Linked DNA regions of Homo sapiens: region 2 is linked to region 1. Evidence: promoter capture Hi-C in 16 types of primary human blood cells and fetal thymus (Javierre and others, 2016). All regions are on one chromosome and are shown on one strand. The core of a region is centred on a gene start or on the middle of the fragment in contact, and the rest is flanking DNA. Distances in the headings are between cores, read along the strand shown. Region 1 holds the start of SAMD4B (sterile alpha motif domain containing 4B). Region 2 holds the start of YIF1B (Yip1 interacting factor homolog B, membrane trafficking protein).

Region 1 (6,073 bases), core at 1,736-4,235:
CACTGAGGAAGATCTGAAAAGAAACCATTCAAAAGTAGAATCGGAAATAACTGCTCAGAGGATGGAGTAACCTTGTGGAGAAGCCAAGATCCTTTCAAGGTAGGTAAGAAATCTTTCTGGAGGATGGGTACTTCATAAAGGGGATTCCTAGGAAACAGGAAAGCAGCAGTGGGCAGTAGGGCACAGAGGCATACCCTGAGGCATCTTTCAGGGGGCTTTTAGTGAGGAAAAGGAAATCCTCCTAAAGGGCACAGGTTCTCAAACTTGCGTGTGCATCAAAATGACCAGGAGGGTTTGTTAAAAACTCTTGATTGCTGGGCCCTGCTCCCAGGTTTTCAGTTTCAGTAGATCTGAGTGGGATTCAAGAATGTGTATTTCTAACAAATGTGGCTGCTGCTGGGCCAGGAACCACACTGAGAACCACTGCTATAGGGGAAGGGATTATTTGGTGAGGAGGTCCTCAAAGGGGAGAAGGAAGAAGGCTTCTGAAAGGGAAATGGGGAGAATCCTAAGTCTCTAAGGAGGGTGTTAAGGGTCTCTTGATCTCTGAAGGGAAGAGGGGTCTATGAGCATGGCACCTAAGAAAAATGGTCTGAAAGAAAGATCTCGGAGCACTGGGATTTCAAGGGGGCGGGGAAAGGTGTCTCTCAAGAATCTTTACAAGGAAACATAGAGGCTCTTGGGCAACGAGTCTGGAGAATGTTGGGGACCTCTGAAGGGATAATGGGAAAAGGGGGCCCCCTGAGAAAGGTCTCTGAGTTGACTTCAGAGGAAAGAGAATGGGGAAATGAGAGGGTGTAAATAGCAATTCTAAAGTTAGTGGGTAAATCTGATAGGGTCCTAAATAATGTTTCTTGGGGATGTCAGAAGTGGAATCTGAGGGAAAGTTCTGAGGAAGTCTCAGGAAGCGCTGGGAGTGGGTGGCTGATGGAGGGCAATTTGGGAGAAAATTCTCTAAAAAGTGTCTGAGGAAGGTGTGGTCTTCTGAGACTGGTCCTGGAGTGGGATGACAGAGGGATGTTTTTAGGAAAAACTCTTCAGAGATCTCAGTTGAGGAGAAAGCTGAGTAAAGTCTCCAAAAGAGTATATGGGGAAGGCGGGGTCTTCTGAGAGAGTGTCAGAGGAGAGGGTTTTTCAGAAAGAATTATAGGACTTTCTCAGAGCAAGAGCTCGGGTTATTTTGGGGGAAAATTAGGTGTGTGTGAGGGTCTTCTTCAAGGGATTCTAGAGGATTTAGGGGACCTGTGTGAGCAAGTTCAGGGAGGGATATCTCTAGAAAAGTCCCTTAGTAAGGCAGAAGTATTGATTCAAGGGGTTCTGGTGGTGTCAGGAAGGTCTTGGAGGGATTTCAAGAACATACGTCAGGAGGGCTCCAGGGGGTCGCTGGGGTCTCTAAGCTGTGTGTGTGTGTGGGGGGGGGGGGTCCTGAAAACCTGCATATCAGAGGGGTCACCAAGAGAATCTTACGGTCTTACAGGGGTTGTGAGGAGGATCTTCAGAAAATTCCTCTAAAACCGGTCTGCAAGGGGGGATTCTGAGGTGTTAGTGAAGGGGAGTTCTACGGGATCTGAGAGAAAAACCATGAGGAAAGTTTTCAGGATCCTTAAACAATTTTTGGAGCGTGTGATGTGGGGGACTGGAAAAGATGTGGAGTATGTAAAAGGGATTTTGGAAGAAGCTTTTGGAATATGATGCTGAGAGTCCTCTGGAGATTTCAGGCAATTGCTGGAGATTTTTAGAATGAGTGGGGGTGGGGAAGGGGATCCCGGTGAAGATCACTGGGCTACATGAGGGTGATCTCTAGGGCATTTTAGGGTGGTGAGACCAGGGGGAGACAGGAGGCCTCTGGGGGAGACTTTTGGGATCTGTGGAAAGGTCCAGAGGGATACGTGAAGGGGGAGTGTGTATGAGAGATGGTTGCAATACGGTGGGGAGGGGGATGGAGTCTTCTAGGTGAGTTTTTGGGATCTGGGGGCATTTCACAAAGTCTGTGAGGAAGATTTATTTTGGGGATATGGGAAGGAGATCTTCAGGGAAGATGATCACGGTCCGTCGGGGGCATTCTGAAGGACTTCTGGGAGGGGGAATCAGAAATGCAGGGGGTATGAGCGGAAAATCTCCAAGGAGGTTTCTGGAATGGGGTAAGTGGGAGGGAAAATTCTTAGGATCCGGGAGGGGGAAGTCGGGTGAGCCTGTTGGGCTGTGAGAGGCAGGGCTCCGGGGGAGAGTTCTGGAATGGACAGGGGTCCGGAGGGAGCCTTGGGGAGGTGTGCAGGGCTCGTGAGGGAGGCTCCTGGAGCAGCTATGAGAGCCACGCTGTGGAATGGACGAGGAGTGGCCTCCGAGGACTATTTCTGGAGACAGGAGGAGGACGGGGGCTTCGGGGCCAAAGGGCGGGGGTCTGCGAGGAAAGCTGCTGGGACCCATGAAGGGCTCGAGGAGGCGACTCCACGGGAGGGGTGGGTTTTGCGGGGACCTTTCAGGGCGCACACGGGGGATCGGCAGGCTTTCCGGGGCTCTCCGAGGGGGATGTGCGGGGGGTCCTGAGGAGAGGCCCCCGGCCCGGCCCCTCGGCAATCCCGAGGGCATGAGAAAGATTTCGGAGGGAAGCTTCGGCCAGGGCCCAGGAGGGAGACTGGGGACGGGCGCGGGGCTTCTCCCGTGGGGCCCGGCCCCCCGAGGCCCGCGTTCCGCACCCGCCCGCCGCCGCCGCCCGCGGTTCGGGGTCCCTGAGGGGGCGGGGCCGCCCGCGCGGCCTGGGTCGCCCTGAGGGGAGCCCCGCGCGCCCCGACTCGCCGCCGCCCCGCGCCGGCCCGGCCCGAGACTCACCGCCTCGGCCTTCGCCGCCACCGCCGCCGCTCGGGCCTCCTCAGGCCACCGCCGCCGCCGTCGCCCCCTCTCGGGCCCGCAAGCTCCCCTCCCTCCTCCCGCACCGACCACCGCCGCCGCCGCCGCCGCCGCCGTCGCGCTGCGTCACCGCGCCGTGCGTCACCGCCCCTGGCCCCGCCCCGACGGGGGCCGCCGCGCGCCGGCATTAGCTCACGCCCGGGTGACGAACGGCGCGCCAGCCAACGGGCGGCGAGGGCAGCCCGAAGGGCGGGAGGTGTGAGCCGAGTAAGGCGGGGTCGCGGCGAGGGGGGAGCGACGGTGGTGGAACGGGGCCCAAGAGGCCCGCCCCCTCCTCGGCGGGATTGGTCGGACGTGGGGGTGACGGGCAGTCGGCCAGGCCTGGGGTTTGGGGCTGGGGGGCGGGGAAGGGGCGGGGCGCGCGGGGCGTTGCCCAGGGCAACGGGCCCGGCGGAGTCTGAGGTTGGGCCTCCAGGCCCGCAGGGGGCAGGCTCGCGCGCGTCCACCCCAGCTGCCCCGAGCGAAGTCACAGTTCCTGATTCAGGCGTTCCAGGCCTCCTCTTCCCCGCCCCTTGGGTGGCCCGCCTCACCCAAGGCTGTCCTCAGTGGGCGTCTGCACTCGGGCTTCTGGGCGCTCGGCTTTCTCATCGCGCTGTTCTCAGCCTTGCCGCTTGCTCTCTCCGATGGGAATGGCGAGGCGAGATCTAGCCTTTAGGGTGGGAAGAGAATGCACAGAAAGCGCTAAGGATCAAGGAGGCTGTCAATAAACGGGAGTTGTTGCTGTGACTTTGGTTGTGATCTGTGCGTTCCACAAACTGTATTGGGTCCGGGTGAACTAATCAGAGGGACCTGTGTTCAGAAGGCTCTCGGTGACAGAGATCTGGCTTGTTACAGGCACTTAGAGAGGCAGTCGGGATGGAGGGTCGAGTTGAAGACAGGGAGGGGTGAGGAACGAGCAGAGGCCAGTTGTTTGGCCACTTGAGGGAGTTTGGACTTGTCCCGAGGGCACTAGGGAGCCGTGAAGGGCTTCAAGCCGGGGAGGATCATGGTGAGTCTGGGGTTTTGGAGAGATGTCTCTCTGGCTTATACATGGAGGGCGGATTGGAGGGAATGAAACGGGATCGGGAGTCCAGGGAGGCAGCTGGGGGAGGGGGTGGGGAAGAAAGAGGGGGTTTGCACGAGGGAGGGACTGTGGGGAGGGAAGGAGGTGCAGGTGGGAGGGACGCCCTGGAGGCAGAGCGAACGGGCCCTGACACTGGCTGGCTATGGAGTGGAAGGGGGAGAAAAGTTTAGGACCAGGCCCCTCTAGCCGGGAGACTGGGCGCCAGAAGCAGGTTGGGAAGATACTAAGCCCAATGTGGATGCCTAGTAGCGAGGTCCAGGAGGTGCACAAACCCTGGGTCTGGAGCTTAAGGGAGAAATTGAGGCTGGAGACCAAGATTTAAGGATCGTCAAAGATGGTAATTGAGGCTGTGGGAGTTAGGGGTCTAGCCCGGGGAGGGTATGAAGGGTCACTGGAGACAGGGACTGAACAGAACCCTGAAACAGAGAGGCAGGATTTGAGCAAAGGAATTGACGCTGTCGATGAATATTGCAAAAGGCAGCCAGAGAGAGGAAAACCAGGAGAGTGTGGCATTATAGACGCTTTGAGGAAAGGCTGTTTCACCAGGGTGGGGCCATGTCACAAACCCCATCCACTACCTCCTGCATTTAAGCAACAGCCTTCACACTGCATAGAATTATTGTGCTCATTAACTGCTGGTTCATTAATTCATTCAATAATATTTCTTGACTATCTAATATGTGCCAGGCTCTGCTTAAGGTGCTAGAAACACAACAATAGGATGAGCGCGGTGGCTCACACCTGTAATCCCAGCATTTTGGGAGGCCGAGGCAGGTGTTCGAGACCAGCCTGACCAACATGGTGAAATCCCATCTCTACTAAAAATACAAAATTAGCGGGGCGTGGTGGCACATGCCTGTAGTCCCAGCTACTTGGGAGGCTGAGGCAAGAGAATCGCTTGAACCCGGGTGGCGGAGGTTGCAGTGAGCCAAGATCGTGCCATTGCACTCCAGCCTGGGCAACAACAGTGAAACTCCGTCTCAAAAAAAAAACAAAAAAAAAACAAAAAGACTTACATTCTAGTTCTTGGGGACACAAACAATAAGGAAATACAGTGTAACTTCGTGATAAGTACCAAGGAGAAAAAGAAAGCAGTGGCTGGGCATGGTGACTCATGCCTGTAATCCCAGCACTTTGGGAGGCTGAGGCTGGTGGATCACTTGAGGCCAGGAGTTTGAGACCAGCCTGGCCAAAGTGGCAAAACCCTGTCTCTACTAAAAATGCCAAAAATTAACTGGGCATAGTGATGCGTGCCTGTAGTTCCAGCTACTCAGGAGGGTGAGGCAGGAGAATCACTTGAACCCAGGAGTCGGAGGTTGCAATAAGCCGAGATTTGCCATTGCACTCTAGCCCAGGTGACAGAGCGAGACTATGTCTCTAAATAAATAAACAAATAAATAACAAGAAAGCAGCTAAGGGAATGGAGTAATGCAGCCAGAATTAATTTACATGGGGAAAGGCCTCTTTCATTAGGTGAGACTGAAACAGAAATCTGAAGGAATGAAGGAGAAAGTGGGTTCCAGAAAGAGAAAACAGCAAGTGCAAAGGCCATGTAGTAGGATCATTCACAGAACCACAAAGGGGCCAGCATTGCTGGAGTGGAGTGAGCAAAAGAGGGCAGTGAAGGACAAGGTCCAAGAGGCAATGGGGTAGGGGTGGTGACAGATAACTTAGTATTTTAGTCATTGTTGGTGTGTGTGTGTGTGTGTGTGTGTGTGTGTGTGGGGGGGGGGGGCAGGGTCTCACTCTGTTGCCCAGACTGGATTGTAGTGGTGCGATCGCGGCTCACTGCAACCTCGGCTCACTGCAACCCCTGCCTCCTGGGTTCAAGTGATTCTCCTGCCTCAGCCTCTGGAGTAGCTGGAACTACAGCCGTATGCCATCAAACCTGGCTAAGTTTTGTATTTTTAGTAGAGATGGGGTTTCACCATGTTGCCCAGGCTGGTCTTGAACTCCTGGACTCAAGTGATCTGCCTGCCTCGGCCTCCCAAAGTGTTGGGATTACAGGCGTGAGCCACTGCGCCTGGCCTGCTGTTTGGTTTTTAGAGATAGGATCTTACTCTGTCACCTGGGCTGGAGTGCAGTGGTGTGATCCTAGCTCAC
Region 2 (6,073 bases), core at 2,381-4,880, 1.0 Mb after region 1:
AGTCGCCCCCCATCGCGCACAGCAGCTAAGGTTGTGCACTGCATCAGGGCGCGCGGCTGACGGAGCAAGGGGCAAACTGAAATCCAATTCTCGCTCCATTCGCCAAGTTGTGAGCCTCGGAGTGGGAACAGCGGACACCACAGAGTCAGGTGTCCCCTGTGCCCGTGTGGACAGAGTGGGGATCCTCAGCTACTCACCAAAGCTTTGTTCAATGCCCACTTTCTGCTGACCCCTCGCTGGATGATCCTGGAGACTCAGTAATGATGAGACCATCCTGCGCCATGCATTCATGGGGCTCCCAGTCTAACTGGGAGACTGACACAAGAGTGACCCACGCCTGTTGTCCCAGCTACTCGGGAGGCTGAGGTCGGAGGATTGCTTGAGCCCAGGAGTTCGAGGCTGCAGTGAGCTATGCCTGGGAGAGAGTGAGACCCTATCTCTAAAAAAAAGAAAAAAGACAGCCCAGAGTGGTCAGGGCTGTGATGAGGGAAGCAAGGGTACAATGATCAAGCCTGGAATCAGGGAGCCCTAGAGGGCCCTGGGAGTCCAGAGGAAGCAACCACCCCTGCCTAGGGAGGTCAAGAGAGCTTCCTGAGGAAGGGGCTAGCTGAGCTGAAGCATGAAGGATGAATGGAAACAAGCCAGGCAGAATCACAAATACACGCCTCTATTTAAGAGGAAATTTTTCTTTCTGCGCCCCCCCGTAAGTCTCTCCACTTCTGCCTCCAGCCAGAACTCAGCGCCTTCCTGACAGCCTTTTGGAGGGCAGCCCAGAGTCCTAACCCCATCCGACTGGCAGAGGAGTGGGGCTTGGGGCTCAGCTCAGACATGTCCCAGCTGGTTCTATTAAAGAGCTGGCAGATCACCGGGCAGAGCCCAACTTGGGGTTGACAATCCAGAAGCAGAGGCACCTGATAATAGAATCAGTAACACAATAGGTGCCAGTGATCGAAGGCTTACATTCTGCCAGGCCCTGTGGACACCTGAACTTGCACTGAATTCTCAACCCCGTCCCAATATAATTCCCACTAAACAGATGAGAAAATTTAGGCTTAAAAATGAAGTAGTCATTTGAGACCAGCTCGGGCAACATGGCAAAACCCCATCTCGACAAAAAATACAAAAATTAGCCAAGTGTGGTGGCATGCGTCTGTAGTCCCAGCTACTCGGGAGGCTGAGGCAGGAGGATCGTTTGAGCTCAGGAATTAGAGACTGCAATGAGTTATGGTCGCACCACTGCACTCCAGTATGGGTGATAGAGTAGACCCTGCCTCAAAAAAATAAAAAGTAGTAGTCACACAACTGGTAAGGGGTGAACATGAGGCCAGCAGGAAGCCAATGAACTAATGAACTTGCTTTTTTTTTTTTTTTTTTTTTTTTTTTGAGACAAGAGTCTCGCTCTGTCTCCCAGGCTGGAGTGCAATGGCACAATCTCGGCTCGCTGCAACCTCTGCCTCCTGGGTTCAAGCAATTCTCCTGCCTCAGCCTCCTAAGTAGCTGGAATTATAGATGCCCGCCACAACACCCAGCTAATTTTTGTATTTTAAGTAGAGACAGGGTTTCGCCATGTTGGCAAGGATGGTCTCAAACTGACCTCAGGTGATCTGCCCGCCTTGGCCTCCCAAAGTGCTGGGATTACAGGCGTGATCCGCTGCACTTGGCAGTACTTGCTTTATTAATTAAATATATATACATAAGGCTGGGTGCGGTGTTTCATGCCTGTAATCTCAGTGCTTTGGGAGGCCAAGGCAGGTGGATCACCTGAGGTCAGGAGTTCGAGACCAGCCTGGCCAACATGGCGAAACCCTGTCTCTACTAAAAATACAAAAAATTAGCCAGGTGCGATGGCACACGCCTGTAATCTCAGCTATCGGGAGGCTGAAGCAGGAGAATCACTTGAACCCAGGAGGCAAAGGTTGCAGTGAGCCGAGATCGCATCACTGCACTCCAGCCTGGGCGACAGAGCAAGACTCCATCTCAAAAAACAAACAAAAAAGCAATAAGAAAAAAAAAAACATTTATGGAAGAGATGTATCTGGAGCAACCAGAGCAAGAGAGGGCTGAGGATGAGGAGAAAATGGTGTTGGAGCCCAGGGGACAGAGGCTAAATCAGAGGTGAAGAAGAATGCGGGCATTTCGCTCACAAAAAGGAACCACAGTGGAGCCAGCACTCATCACTGAGAAACCAGGAGCAGCCCTTAAGGTCTCCAAAAAGACAACGTCTCAGAGGAGGAAGAGGAAGCCACAGCGATAGGGTCACTTGCTGACATCCTTCCGGATGCGCTATCGCTGCGCAGAAGTAACTTCCACCACTATGTTTTCCTGAGATAAGTCGGGGAGTCTGAGAGGGAGAGAAGGGGGGAGACTGAGAGTCAGAGAGAGGAGAGACTAAGGACGCTAGGTGGGCAGGGCTCTTCACTTGCAGGTGCGCCTGTGTGCTGTGAGTTGCTGGGGGTTGTAGAATGCTTTTGGTGGACAGAGGGAACCAGGTTGCAATGTGAGAACATTTTTATGAATTTCTGGGAAACTGCCTTAAGATCTATTCCAAGAGAGACACCTGGTTCTTCTCACCTAACTTGTTGGGTTTCCTTTTCTCACTCTAAATATTCACTTTAAGGCCGGGCACTGTGGCTCATGTCTGTAATCCTAATGCTTTAGGAGGCTGAAGCAGGAGGATGGCTTGAGCCCAGGAATTCGAGACCAGCCTGGGCAACATAGCAAGATCCTGTTTTGACAAAAAATTTAAAAATTAGCTGGGCATGGTGGTGCATGCCTGTGGTGCCAGTTACTGGGGAGGCTGAGGCAGGAGGATCACTTGAGCTCAGGGGGTCCGAGGCAGCCTGGAAAACAGAGGAAGACCCTGTCTCAAAATAAATAAATATTTACTTTAATACCTAAGGGATGTCAAAAATTGTATAAGCCCCTACAACTCCAATTAGCCCCTCAGGAACACAAATGTTTCTCTTTTCCTTGCTCCACAGCCTTTTCTGGCTCTCCAGTGCTCTCAATGACCCAAACTGAACGGCTGTCTGCAGAGAACTGCATTTCCCATCGACCTTTTCGCTCGATATTTACATTTTAAAAAATGTTTTGTAGCGATGGAGATCTCGCTGTTGCCCAGGCTGGTCTCGAACTCCTGGGCTCAAGCGATCCTCAGCCTTCCAAAGTGCTGAGATTACAGGCGTTAAGCCACTGAGCCTGGCTAAATTAAAAAAAAAAAAAATTGTAGGGATGGGGCGGGGCGAGGGTCACTATGTTGCTCAGGCTAGTCTCGAATCCCTGGGCTGAAGCAATCCTCCCGCCTCGGCCTCCCAAAGTGCTGGAGTTAGGGGCGTGAGCCCCGGCAAGGGGCAGACACTCATTTTCTGTCGTGGCAGACACCGCCTCCTCCTGGGATTGGTCCCGGCCTCGCCCTCCTGCCACTCAGGCCTTGACTCGCTTTACTGCATGAGCCCAGTAGCCCAGTCTCCGCCTCTTACGTAAGGCACCGCCCAGTCGTCCAGGCCTCCGTGAAGGGGGGGGCTGGAGGGGTCGGGGGGGTGGGGGCGAGGCCTTCCCTCAATCCTGACGTCCATTGGCTGTCTCTTCGCCGGCGGGGCGTGGGTACGGGAGCCGGGCGGGCACGCTCCGAACCGCGGCTTAGGTGGCGGCGGCGAAGGATGCACCCGGCAGGCTTGGCGGCGGCGGCTGCGGGGACGCCCCGGCTGCGTAAGTGGCGTACGTGGCCGGCGGAGGAGATCGGGCGGGCGGGGGCGTGGCGGGGCGGCCGCGTCGGTTGGCGAGGTCACTGCAGGTCAGAGGTCACGAGATCAAGGATCTGGAACCCTGAGGTGTGCACAGCGCTGGGATGCCAGGTTCGGGTAGGAGGCCCCTTGGGGGGCGATTCTTTAGGAAATTCCTTTAGAAGAAAACAACTTGGGACTGGATAGCGTGCGATATGCAGAGAAATGCAACTTTCATTCATTTGCAGTTAGCGATCCGCCCTTCCCTGCTCCCCACCCTTCCGTGGCTCCCCAGTACCCGCCTGCTGTCGCCCACACCCTTAGGACAGCTTCGTGGCCCCCCGGGAGCGCAGAGGGCCATGCCTACCGCTCATTTAAGAAGCGAACCTGTATTGTGCTGTTGGCCCCCTTTTCCTGTCTCTTCATCTCCGTGAGTGTGCTGTGTGTTTCATTTATTCATTCAACCTAACTTGTCTCAACTCCCATGTGTCAGGCCCTGTGTTGGGATGGAGATGTTGTGGGAGCCCTGAGGAGGCACATGACCCAGCCTAGGGGTGTCAGTGAAGCTTCCTGGAAGAGGATACTTCTTTTTCTTTTTTTTTTTTTTTTGAGACCTAGTTTTGTTCTTGTTGCCAAGGCTGGAGTGCAATGGCGCGATCTCAGGTCACCGCAACCTCCGCCTCCCGGGTTCAAGCGATTCTCCTGCCTCAGCCTCCCAAGTAGCTGGGATTACAGGCGCAGGCCACCACGCCCGGGGTGGTATAGACGGGGTTTCTCCATGTTGGTCAAGCTGGTCTCAAACTCCCGACCTCAGGTGATCCGCCCGCCTAGGCCTCCCAAAGTGCTGGGATTACAGGCGTGAGCCACCGCACCCGGCATGGAAGAGGATAATTCTGATCATGAAAAGTTACCCAGGAGAAGGAGATTTGTAGTGAGAGGGCAGGCTGGGCGTGCTGGCCTACACCTATAATCTCAGCACTTTGGGAGGTCGAGGTGGGCGAATCACTTGGGGCCAGGAGTTGGAGACCAGCTTGGGTAACAGCAAAATCCTATCTCTAATAAAAGTACACAAAATTAGCCGGGTGTGGTGGCGAGCACCTGTAATCCCGGCTACTTGGGAGTCTGAGGCTTGAGAATCACTTGAACCCAGGAGGCAGAGGTTGCACTGAGGCGAGATTGCACCAGCCTGGGCGACAGAGCAAGACTTCGCCTCAAAAAAAAAAAAAAAAAAAAAAAAAGAGGGTGATCCACCTGCCTTGGCCTCCCAAAGTGCTGGGATCACAGGCATGAGTCACGGTGCCCAGCCAACCAGCCTGGCCAACATGATGAAACCCCATCTCTACTAAAAATGCAAAAAAATTAGGTTGGGCGCAGTGGTTCACACCTATAATCCCAGGATTTTGGGAGGCCGAGGTGGGAGGATCACGAGGTCAGGAGTTCGAGACCAGCCTGGCCAACATGGTGAGACCCCATCTCTACTAAAAATAGAAAATTTAGCTGGGCGTGGTGGTGTGCGCCTGTAGTCCCAGCTACTCAGGAGGCTGAAGCAGAAGAATTGCTTGAACCTGGGAGGTGGAGGGTGCAGTGGGCCGAGATTTCACCACTGCACTCCAGCCTGGGTGACAGAGTGAGACTCCATCTCAAAAAAAAAAAAAAAAAAAATTAGCCGGGCGTGGTGGCGCGCACCTGTAATTCCAGCTACTCGGGCGGCTGAGGCAGGAGAATCGCTTGAACCCAGGATGCGGAGGTTGCAGTGAGCCAAGATTGCGCCATTGCACTCCAGCCTAGGCAACGAGCGAAACAACGCCTCAAGAAAAGAAAAAAAAGAGAGAGAGAAGGAAAGGCATTGGAGGCCTGTGCCAAGTAAACAAGTAGACATATGAATATATATTCAGAAATTATTGTGAGTGCTCAGAAGAGAAAAAGAAAGCACCACATGTTATGAGAAGGAACCAGACGAGGTTAGTGCATTACAGGGAGGAGTGAGGAAGGTCTCTGCAAAGGCAGGGGCCTCTGTGTGATATTGGGAGGTGCTGATGGAGGGAGGTTGTTCCAGGATGAAAGCTCTGCATATTCAAAAGCCAGTGGGGGCAAGGAGCTTGGCAGAGTCGGGGCCTGAAAGGCCATGTGGCTGGCTGGTGCATGGGATCCCCAGGAGAGGTTGCAAACCATGGTGGTTGGCAGGAGTGGGTCATGCAGGGCCTAGCAGGCCTTTGGATTTTTTTCAGAGCACAGTGAATAGTGATCTTAGGCAGAGGATGACGTGGTCTTATTTGTATTTAAAAAGATCACTCTGGGCCGGGTTAGGTGGCTCACGCCTGTAATCCCAGCACTTTGGGAGGCCGAGGCGG

Evidence for each region. Contacts are between HindIII fragments. The CHiCAGO score rates a contact against its expected background, and 5 or more counts as called.
Region 2: the fragment with the promoter of YIF1B here is called in contact with the fragment with the promoter of SAMD4B in region 1 in 4 of 17 cell types (total CD4 T cells, total CD8 T cells, fetal thymus and 1 more); the score reaches 7.7 in total CD4 T cells.

Annotation. Positions count from the first base shown.
Region 1 is chr19:39,339,333-39,345,405 of GRCh38, reverse strand. It overlaps SAMD4B (sterile alpha motif domain containing 4B), which reads right to left and starts at 2,985. Exons shown (of 14, transcript NM_001384574.2): 1 at 2,830-2,985. RefSeq lists a silencer at 2,867-3,296. The HindIII fragment of the contact is 6,593 bases long and covers 2,613-6,073 here.
Region 2 is chr19:38,313,504-38,319,576 of GRCh38, reverse strand. It overlaps YIF1B (Yip1 interacting factor homolog B, membrane trafficking protein), which reads left to right and starts at 3,630. Exons shown (of 8, transcript NM_001039672.3): 1 at 3,630-3,717. The coding sequence starts at 3,660. RefSeq lists a silencer at 3,306-3,795. The HindIII fragment of the contact is 4,086 bases long and covers 205-4,290 here.